Regions from separate parts of the Homo sapiens genome. Here regions 1 and 3 are each linked to region 2. The links are contacts of gene promoters, found by promoter capture Hi-C in blood cells and fetal thymus (Javierre and others, 2016). All regions are on one chromosome and are shown on one strand. The core of a region is centred on a gene start or on the middle of the fragment in contact, and the rest is flanking DNA. Distances in the headings are between cores, read along the strand shown.

Evidence for each region. Contacts are between HindIII fragments. The CHiCAGO score rates a contact against its expected background, and 5 or more counts as called.
Region 1: a contact is called between a fragment that was not itself captured here and the fragment with the promoter of PLBD2 in region 2, in 14 of 17 cell types (fetal thymus, naive CD4 T cells, naive B cells and 11 more). The highest score is 13.3, in fetal thymus.
Region 3: a fragment that was not itself captured here is called in contact with the fragment with the promoter of PLBD2 in region 2 in 3 of 17 cell types (fetal thymus, total CD8 T cells and neutrophils); the score reaches 6.5 in fetal thymus.

Annotation. Positions count from the first base shown.
Region 1 is chr12:113,186,794-113,189,893 of GRCh38, forward strand. It overlaps RITA1 (RBPJ interacting and tubulin associated 1), which reads left to right. Exons shown (of 4, transcript NM_032848.3): 3 at 1-255. Among named protein-coding and RNA genes, the nearest start is that of RITA1, 2.6 kb to the left of the region's middle. RefSeq lists an enhancer at 1-569. The HindIII fragment of the contact is 2,224 bases long and covers 607-2,830 here.
Region 2 is chr12:113,356,905-113,360,034 of GRCh38, forward strand. It overlaps PLBD2 (phospholipase B domain containing 2), which reads left to right and starts at 1,683. Exons shown (of 12, transcript NM_173542.4): 1 at 1,683-1,986. The coding sequence starts at 1,697. It overlaps LOC105369989 (a long non-coding RNA gene), which reads right to left and starts at 2,606. Exons shown (of 3, transcript XR_945346.3): 1 at 2,426-2,606. RefSeq lists silencers at 1,497-1,996, 2,047-2,106 and an enhancer at 2,442-2,941. The HindIII fragment of the contact is 3,133 bases long and covers 220-3,130 here.
Region 3 is chr12:113,168,799-113,171,793 of GRCh38, forward strand. DDX54 (DEAD-box helicase 54) reads right to left here. Exons shown (of 20, transcript NM_024072.4): 12 at 972-1,106. Among named protein-coding and RNA genes, the nearest start is that of MIR7106, 11 kb to the left of the region's middle. The HindIII fragment of the contact is 648 bases long and covers 1,127-1,774 here.

The DNA.
Region 1 (3,100 bases), core at 469-2,968, 170 kb before region 2:
CCTTCAGCACCGCTGCCGAGGTGGCTACCGGGTCAAGGCCAGGACGTCATATGTGGATGAGACTCTGTTTGGCAGCCCAGCAGGCACCCGGCCTACCCCACCGGACTTCGATCCGCCCTGGGTGGAGAAGGCTAACAGAACCAGAGGCGTGGGCAAGGAGGCATCGAAGGCCTTGGGGGCAAAGGGGAGCTGTGAGACCACCCCCTCAAGGGGCAGCACCCCCACCCTCACACCAAGGAAGAAGAACAAATACAGGTAATGGGGTAGGGAGATGCAAATCCTGTACTCAGTGCAGCCACCTGGATTCCAGTTACAGCTCTGGTGTTCACCTGCTCTGTGACCTTGGGCAAGCATCTTGACCTCTCTGAGCCAGTTTACTCATGTGGAAAATAGGACCAATTATTCCTACCTAGGGGGATTGTTGATGGATTAAATGAGAGAGGGGTCTGCAGTGCTTCGCACAGTAACCTAATACTTAGAAAGCTGTCAATAAATGGTAGTGTTGATGGTTGTGATGGTGAACTCCCTATCCCCAAATGTCACAAACTGGGCATCTGAGGCCCAGAGGAGTCAGCTGAGGCATAAGATCACAGAGAAATTTGCATAAGCTTATTAATATTAATGTGTTCGATCCTTGAAATGACATAGATGTGGTGTTTCTGAAGTCATTTTGAAAATGGGTTTTGGCCACATGGGGTAGCTCATGCCTGTAATCCCAGAACGTTTGGAGGTTGAGGTGGGATCACTTGAGCTCAGGAGTTTGAGACCAGCCTGGGCAGCGTGGTGAAACTGTGTCTCTATAAAAAATGCAAAAATTAGCCAAGTGTGGTGGTGTGCGCCTGTACTCCCAGCTCCCGGGAGGCTGAGGTGGGAGGATCACTTGAGCCTAGGAGGCAGAGATTGCAATGAGCTGAGATCACGCCTCTGCACTCCAGCCTGAGTGACAGAGTGAGACCCTGTCTCCAAAAAAAAAAAAAAAAAAAAATTGAAAATGGTTCTTGCTGCATTTTTATGAACAAGTTAGAAAAATAGGAACTAATGCAAATTGTTATTGTTGTTAATTAATTAGATTAGAATTAGATTATTTGGACTGTTTCAGATTAATATCAGCCTGGAGGGAGGTGTCTAGTGGTGAGCCACAGGGCTCTGTCCTGTTTATTGTTATCAGTGGTTTGGACAAAGACACAGAAGATTAGCACAGTAGTTGGCTAGGGCCACCATGACAAAATACCACAGACTGGGTGGCTTAAACAACACAATTTTTTTTTTTTTTGAGATGGAGTCTCGCTCTGTTGCCCAGGCTGGAGTGCAGTGGCACGATCTTGGCTCACCACAACCTCCACCTCCCGGGTTCAAGCGACTCTCCTGCCTCAGTCTCCTGAGTAGCTGGGACTACAGGCACATGCCACCATGCCTGACTTAATTTTTTTTTTTTTTTTTTGAGACGGAGTTTTGCTCTTGTTGCCCAGGCTGGAGTGCAGTGGAGCCATCTCAGCTAACCTGAACCTCTGCCTCCCAGGTTCAAGCGATTCTCCTGCCTCACCCTCCCTGGTAGCTGGGATTACGCCACCATGCCTGGCTAATTTTGTATTTTTAGTAGAGACGGGGTTTCTCCATGTTGGTCAGGCTGATCTTGAACTCCCGACCAGGTGATCCACCTGCCTTGGCCTCCCGAAGTGCTGGGATTACAGGCATGAGCCACCGCGCCTGGCCACAACACAAATTTATTTTGTCACAGTCTGGAGGCTGGAAGCCCAAGATCAAGGTGTTGGCAGGTTTGGTTTCTCCTGAGGCCTCTCTCCTTGGCTTGCAGTTGGCCACGTTCTCACAGTGTCATCATAGGGCCTTTTCTCATTTTTTTTTAATCCTTCAATTACATGCAAGGGCCTTTTCTGTATACACACACACCCCTGATGTCTCTTCCTCTCATAAGGACACCAGTTCTATTGGATTAGGATCCCCTACCCTTATAATGTTATTTAGCCTTAGTTACCTTTTTTTTTTTTTTTTTTTTTTTTTTTTTTTTTTTTTTTTTGAGATGGAGTCTGGCTCTGTCGCCCAGGCTGGAGTGCAGTGGCACCATCTCGGATCACTGCAGCCTCCACCTCCGGGTTCAAGGAATTCTCCTGCCTCAGCCTCCCGAGTAGCTGGCATTACAGGTGCACGCCACCATGCCTGGCTAATTTTTGTATTTTTAGTAGAGACGGGGTTTCACTGTGTTGGCCAGGCTGGTCTCAAACTCCTGAGCTCAAGTCGTTCTCCCGCCTCTGCTTTCCAAAGTGCTGGAATTACAGATGTGAGCCACCATGTCTGGCCAGCCTTAATTACCTTTAATTAATCTAAATAATTAAGGCCAAGTGTAGAGACATTTGGGGTTAGGGCTTCAACATATGAATTTGGGTGGGCACAATTCAGTCCATAAGAACTGGCCAGCTAAAGTTAGGGTTCATTCTGAACCACAGGGACATATTTCAGATGAGAGAAATGAAATGAGAATGGGAATGATACCTATTATAAAAACAAGAATCAGTTATTGCCAGTTCTGTAGACAAGGCAGGGTCAGGTGGAGATTAGCAACACTGATACCTACAACATGGCTGAAAACACTGAGGTAAAGATAGGCTGCATTAGGAAGTATGGTGTCCATGAAAAGGGAGGTGACAACTCCTTGCTCACCTGGAGGGTGGAATTTTCTTCTGGATGCCAACAGGTAGAGGGTGTCAAGTGAGGGGTTGCATAAGAGGTAGAGAAGTTATTGAGCAAAAACCTTGGCACCAGACATATACAGGCATTAGCCAATGTGGTTTGAGCAGCTAAACCAAGTGGCAAAAGCTTGCCCTTTCAAAGACTTGCAGTTTGGGGATAGAAGCACTTTCAGTCCTGGCCAAAAAAACTATGGGCGTGGAATCTTGCAGGTATGCCGTGAATATCTGTTGAATAAAAAAAAAAAAAAAAAAAAAGGCCAGACAGGCTGACTCAGGCCTGTAGTCCCAGCACTTTGGGAGGCTGAGGTGGGAGGATCGCTTGAGCTCCAGAGTTTGAGACCAGCCTGGGCAACATAGTGAGATCCCTGTCTCTACAAAAAATAAAAATATTAGCA
Region 2 (3,130 bases), core at 433-2,932:
ACCGCCCGCCTCCAGAGCAAGGTTGAAGGAAAAAAAAGAGAGAAAGACAAATTATTTTATTGCTATTCCTTTCCTTGGTCTCTTAAGCATGACTATGTTTTACAAACCTCTCTATTTAGCCAGTTCTTGTTTTACTTTTGATGCAGCTACAAGGCCACCAGCTATGCAAGGCCACAAGTTATGCACTATATGATTAACTACTTTTGTTTTACCTTTCTAAGCTTGCTTATAAAAACCCCACAATATCTTTGTTCTAGGCTCAGCTTTTTGGATGTGAATCCACTGAGCCAGTGCGTACGTTGAAATAAACATCCTCCTGTTCTCTCATATTGGTCTCTCCGTTCCTCAGTTTCCCACAACAGGACTACAGGTGTGCACCACCAAGCTCAGCTAATTTTTATATTTTATAGAGACAGAGTCTTGCCAGGTTTCCTAGGCTGGTCTCAAACTCCTGGGCTCAAGCATTCCTCCCACCTTGGCCACCCAAAGTGCTGTGATTACAGGCATGAACCACTCACCTGGCCTTCCCTCTCAAATTTTAAGAGTTCCTGATATATTATATGATATATGTTGAGATATATATACATATATATATGTAATGTATATATATGATATATGTTGCAAATAGTTTCTCCTGGTCTGTCAGATGTCTTTTGACTTTGCTTATTGAGTTTTTTGACATGAAAAAGTTAAAAAATTTATACAGTCAAATGCATTAATCTTTTATTGCATCTAGGTTTTTTTTTTTTTTTTTTTCTTTTGAGACAAGGTCTCATTCTGGTTGCTCAGGCTGGAGTGCAGTGGTGCAATCTCGACTCTCTGCAGCCTCGACCTTCCGGGCTCAGGTGATTTTCCTACCTCAGTCTCCCGAGTAGCTGGGACTATAGGCGCGCCTCACTGCGTCCGGCTACTTTTTTGTATTTTTAGTAGAGACGGGGGTTTCACCATGTTGCCCAGGCTGGTCTTGAACTCCTGAACTCGCCCGCCCTGGCCTCCTGGAGTGTTGGGATTACAGGCGTGAGCCACCGCGCCCGACGGCATCTAGGTTTTGAGTAGTAGTTAGACAGCTTTTTCCCACACACATGTAAAAAGGGTATTTGAGGGACAATGGGAAAAGTTGGAATAAAGACTGCATTAGATAACTGTATTAAATAAATGGCAAATACCATTAAATAAATCTGGCCGGGCGCGGTGGCTCACCCCTGTAATCCCAGCACTTTGGGAGGCTGAGGCAGGCGGATCACCTGAGGTCAGGAGTTCAAGACCAGCCTGGCCAACATGGCGAAACCCCGTCTGTACTGAAATTACATAAATCAGCTGGGCGTGGTGGTGCGCGCCTGTAATCCCACCTACTCAGGAGGATGAGGCAGGAGAATCGCTTGAACCCGGGAGGCGGAGGTGGCAATGAGCCGAGATCGCGTCACTGCACTCCAGTCTGGGCGACATATGGAGGTTTTGTCTTGTCTCAAAAAAAAAAAAAAAAAAAAACTTGGGGAAGTGTGCTAAACCGGGTTTGCGTAGGTGGAAGGGGCGGCCGGGCTCTTTAAGGTGGGTCCCGCCCCGTAGGCCTCCCCTCGCGCCAGCCCCTCCCATCCCGGAAAGGCTCAGCCCAAGCCCGGCCCCGCCCGCCCTCGGCCCCGCCCATGGCAGAGCGCAGTCACGTGACCCGGGCTGCGGGGCGCAGCATTGTGCGGTCATGGTGGGCCAGATGTACTGCTACCCCGGCAGCCACCTGGCCCGGGCGCTGACGCGGGCGCTGGCGCTGGCCCTGGTGCTGGCCCTGCTGGTCGGGCCGTTCCTGAGCGGCCTGGCGGGGGCGATCCCAGCGCCGGGGGGCCGCTGGGCGCGCGATGGGCAGGTCCCTCCAGCCTCCCGCAGCCGCTCGGTGCTCCTGGACGTCTCGGCGGGCCAGCTGCTTATGGTGGACGGACGCCACCCTGACGCCGTGGCCTGGGCCAACCTCACCAACGCCATCCGCGAGACTGGGTAAGGGTTGGCTTATCCCCACGCGGGGCCATCGGGGGAGGGGGATGCGTGGGCGCCGGACCTCGCCTGTTCCCGGGACCGGCCTCTTGCCGGGTGGGAACGCCCGTTTCTCTGGGGGTCAGCTACTCCCGAGGCTGCAGCACCGCCCTGCGGGCCAAGTACCCTGTTTGGGAGCTGGCTACTGCGGCATCCCTCACCTCATGGGGCCAGTCCCTTGCCTTCAGCCAGTGGTGACAGTACTTCTGTCCCCAAGAAGCCAGTTCCCTACCACCGAGGCCGCAGTGCCTGCATCTGGATCAGGTCCATGGCTGGTGGGTAAATTCTATCCTCACGGGGACCTGCTCCCTTCCCTAGACTTTGCCTCCTCACCCCATGGAGGCCAGCCCCCTGTCCCCAGGCCTGAGGGGTGATGAGAACTCAGCAGGAGACTAATTCTTACCTGCTTGGCTGTGGCTTGCTCGTGGGTGCCAGCACCCTGCCTCCCTTCCAGTGCCAGGTCAGCAGGACTGAACCTGGGTTCCAGGCTAGTCCAAAAGCAGAGGGTCCCTAAAGTCACATAGACCCATTTAGTATCCTGCTAGGGCTCTGCTCCTCCCTTGTCTTCTGTGTCCTGGTCCAAGGGGAAGTCCTTGGCTGGATGCCGTGTTTGGCAGCCATGCTCACCATCTTTATTGCTGGAACCCAGGCTGTCATTCTGATGTGTGAGTCTCACCTAACTCCTCCGCCTGTCTGGGCTCCCGTTTCCCCATCTGTGGCCCAGATTTTGAGGATGTGCTCTAGTTGGGTGGTCATGTGCTGCAAGTTCTGTACAAGGGCTTGTGCCCATTCATTTATTCATTACCCTGATGGTTGGCCTTAGGGACACAGCTGAGCAGCTGTCTCTACTCAGTGGGAAACACAGACAGCGATAGAAGAGAAATCAGAGTCAGTGGGAGTGGGAAGGATCAGCTTCAAAGCCTTGTCAGCAGGGCCCAGACGCTGGATCAGGCTGTGCTGGGGGATCCTAGGGAACCCGGGGTGCATCCGTCATATCCTAGTGTCCAGATGATGCTAGGGAACCCTAGCACTAGGATGTGCCCAGGATGTGGTCTGTGCTCAGACCACACTGCCCCCTGCAGCAGAAAGGGCCTCCTCCCACTTTAGC
Region 3 (2,995 bases), core at 201-2,700, 190 kb before region 2:
GTGTGCCTGCAGTCCCAGCTACTCGGGAGGCTGAGGCAGGAGAATCGCTTGAACCCAGGATGCGGAGGTTGTGGTGAGCCAAGATTGCACCACTGCACTCCAGCCTGGGCAACAAGAGCGAAACTCTGTCTCAATAAATAAATTAAAAATGTCCTGTGGGCTTGGTCTGAATGAGCCTCAGCCTCTCTTTCCCTCCGCTGCGCTCCCCTGAAAACTCATCAAGTATAGGGTCACACACTAGATGCCTGCAGGGGCTGGGCAGGCCACACTGACAGGAAGGGGAGGCAGGCAGGGGCTGCAGGGGACCAGGAAGCCTGTCTAATGGGGGTGCCACAGCTTAGCACCCAGATCCAACTGTTTCCCAGTAGATACCAGAAATCTGGATTGTTGTGGGAAATCCTGAGTTTAAAATAGAGGGATTAGCCAGGCATAGTGGCTTGCTTGAGCCCAGGAGTTGGAAGTTGCAGCGAGCCATGATCGCACCACTGCACTCCAGCCTGAGCAAGAGTAAGACCCCGTCTCGTTAAAAAATAGAAGGAATCAGCCGGGCGCAGTGACTCACACCTGTAATCCCAGCACTTTGGGAGGTGGGCGAATCACTTGAGGTCAGGAGTTCGAGATCAGCCTGGCCAACATGGTGAAACCTTGTCTCTACTAAAAATACAATAAAAAATTTGCCAGGCGTGGTGGCGGGCATCTATAGTCCCAGCTACTCGGGAGGCTGAGGCAAGAGAATGGCTTGAACCTGGGAGGCAGAGGTTGCTGTGAGCCAAGATCACACCACTGCACCCCAGCCTGGGCAACAGAGCGAGGCTCTGTCTCAAAAAATAAACAAAACAAATAAAATACAATAAAATAAATAAAAGGAATCATCTTCTGCTGGGGTCAAACCCAGCCCTACCTCCTCCCACAGCCAAAACAGGGCCCATGAACTCCACGGGGACCCCTATCCCCACCCAGCCTCCACTCACCTGAGGGCTCCTTGAGGGGTCGGGCGAGGGTGAGGGAGCGGCCCAGGAACAGGTGCAGATCCAGCAGGTAGGGGATTTCATCAGGGGCCACCAAGGAGTAGGCTGTGCCACTTCGGCCAGCCCGAGCCACACGGCCTGCAGCAAGGAGACGTTCAAGCTTAATTAAGCAAAGAAGGACCCGGACCCAGCATGAGTTCCACAGGCCAGACCCTGAGCAGGTGAGCCTGGCCAAGCCTCGAACCTCACACGGCTGCTGTCCCCACCTACGCACAGGGAAGTTTAATCCCGGTCCCTAGGTTGATCTGTGAGAGTGTGCCCAAGCTGACACAGTGCTCTGGGAGACTAGCAAAAATACAGCAAGGCCCTGCTCATGAGCATGATCAAAACTCTTCAGTGTCCCCACTTTTGAGAATTCCCCGCAAAGATGTAAAGATTCACACACAAGGAGGTTTAGTGTGGCCCTGACTAGGACAGCCCCAAGTTGGAAACTAAAGTCTCAAGGGTAGAGGACTAGATAAGTGAATTAGCTGATGGCCACACAGTGGGAATTAAACAGCTCAGGAAAAGAGTGGGCAAACTGCAGCCTACAGGGCCAGGCTGGTGGCTCACGCCTGTAATCACAGCACTTTGAGGGGCTGAGGTGGGAGAATCACTTGAGGCCAGGAGTTCGAGAACAGCCTGGGCAAAATAGCAAGACCCCATGTCTACAAAAAACGAAAATTAGCCAGATGTGATGGTGTGTGCCTGTAGCCCTAAGTACTTGGGAGGCTGAGCTGGGAGGATTGCTTGAATCTGGGAGTTCAAGCTTACAGTGAGCTATGATCATGCCACAGCACTAGAGCCCAAGCAACAGAGTGAGATCCCGGCCCCCTGCTTGTCTGTGTAAATAAAGATTTATTGGAACACAGCCACACTCATTTGTTTATATATTATCTATATAAATGAATAGGCAGCAGTCACACGACAGCAGCAGAGATGAACAGTTATGACAGAGACAGTATGGTCCACAAAGCCTAACGTTTCATGTCTAGCCCCTTACAGAAAAGATGTGCCAACCCATCACAGAATGACATTTCATAGTAAACGAAAAACATTCGTGATGTATGGTGATGTAAAAAGAAAAAAACAAAAAGCCAGTTATAAAAAAGAACACCCAATATGATTGCAATTTTGCATGAAGTACCTAAATCACTACATAGCATTATATTTTGGTTTGTCTCTGTATCTTGGGAAAACAAGGTGTTATGACATTTGGAGATTTCATTTGAGGTTGTCTGACCGGCACTGTTGGTCTTGTGAGGCACAAGAAATTCCCTTTGGGGGCGTCCTGGGGACCTCCCTAGGGACATGCAGAACCAGCTCTCCACACAGCAACAGAAACTAGGGGACAGCAGACAGCAACAAGGGGGAAGTGCACCCACCACATGACACTTATGAATTAAAAGAAGGCAAAGAAAGTAGAATAACAGTTACCAGGGGCTGCGGGAGGGGAATAAGGAGATTTTGTCTGACGGATAGAGCTTCAATTTTGCAAGATGGAAAAGTTCTGGGGCCAAGCATGGTGGCTCACGCCTGTAATCACAGCACTTTGGGAGGCTGAGGCAGATGCATCACTTGAGGTTAGGAGTTCAAGACCACCTTGGCCAACATGGTGAAACCCCTGTCTCTACTAAAAACACAAAAAATTAGCTGGGCCTGGTGGCGAGCACCTGTAATCCCAGCTACTCGGGAGGCTGATGCAAGAGAATAGCTAGAACCTGGGAGGTGAAGGTTGCAGTGAGCCGAGATCACACCCCTGCACTCCAGCCTGGGGTACAAAGCAAGACTCTCAAAAAAAAAAAAAAAAGTTTTGGGGACAGATGGTGGTGACAGTTGCACAATGGGAACAGACTCAATGCCACTCCACTGCACACTGGGAAATGGCAAAATGCTGAATTGCATGCTATGTCTACTTTACCACAACTTAAAATAGAAACATCAGAAGAATGGACACACACCAAAATGACGGCCATGTCATCAGAGAG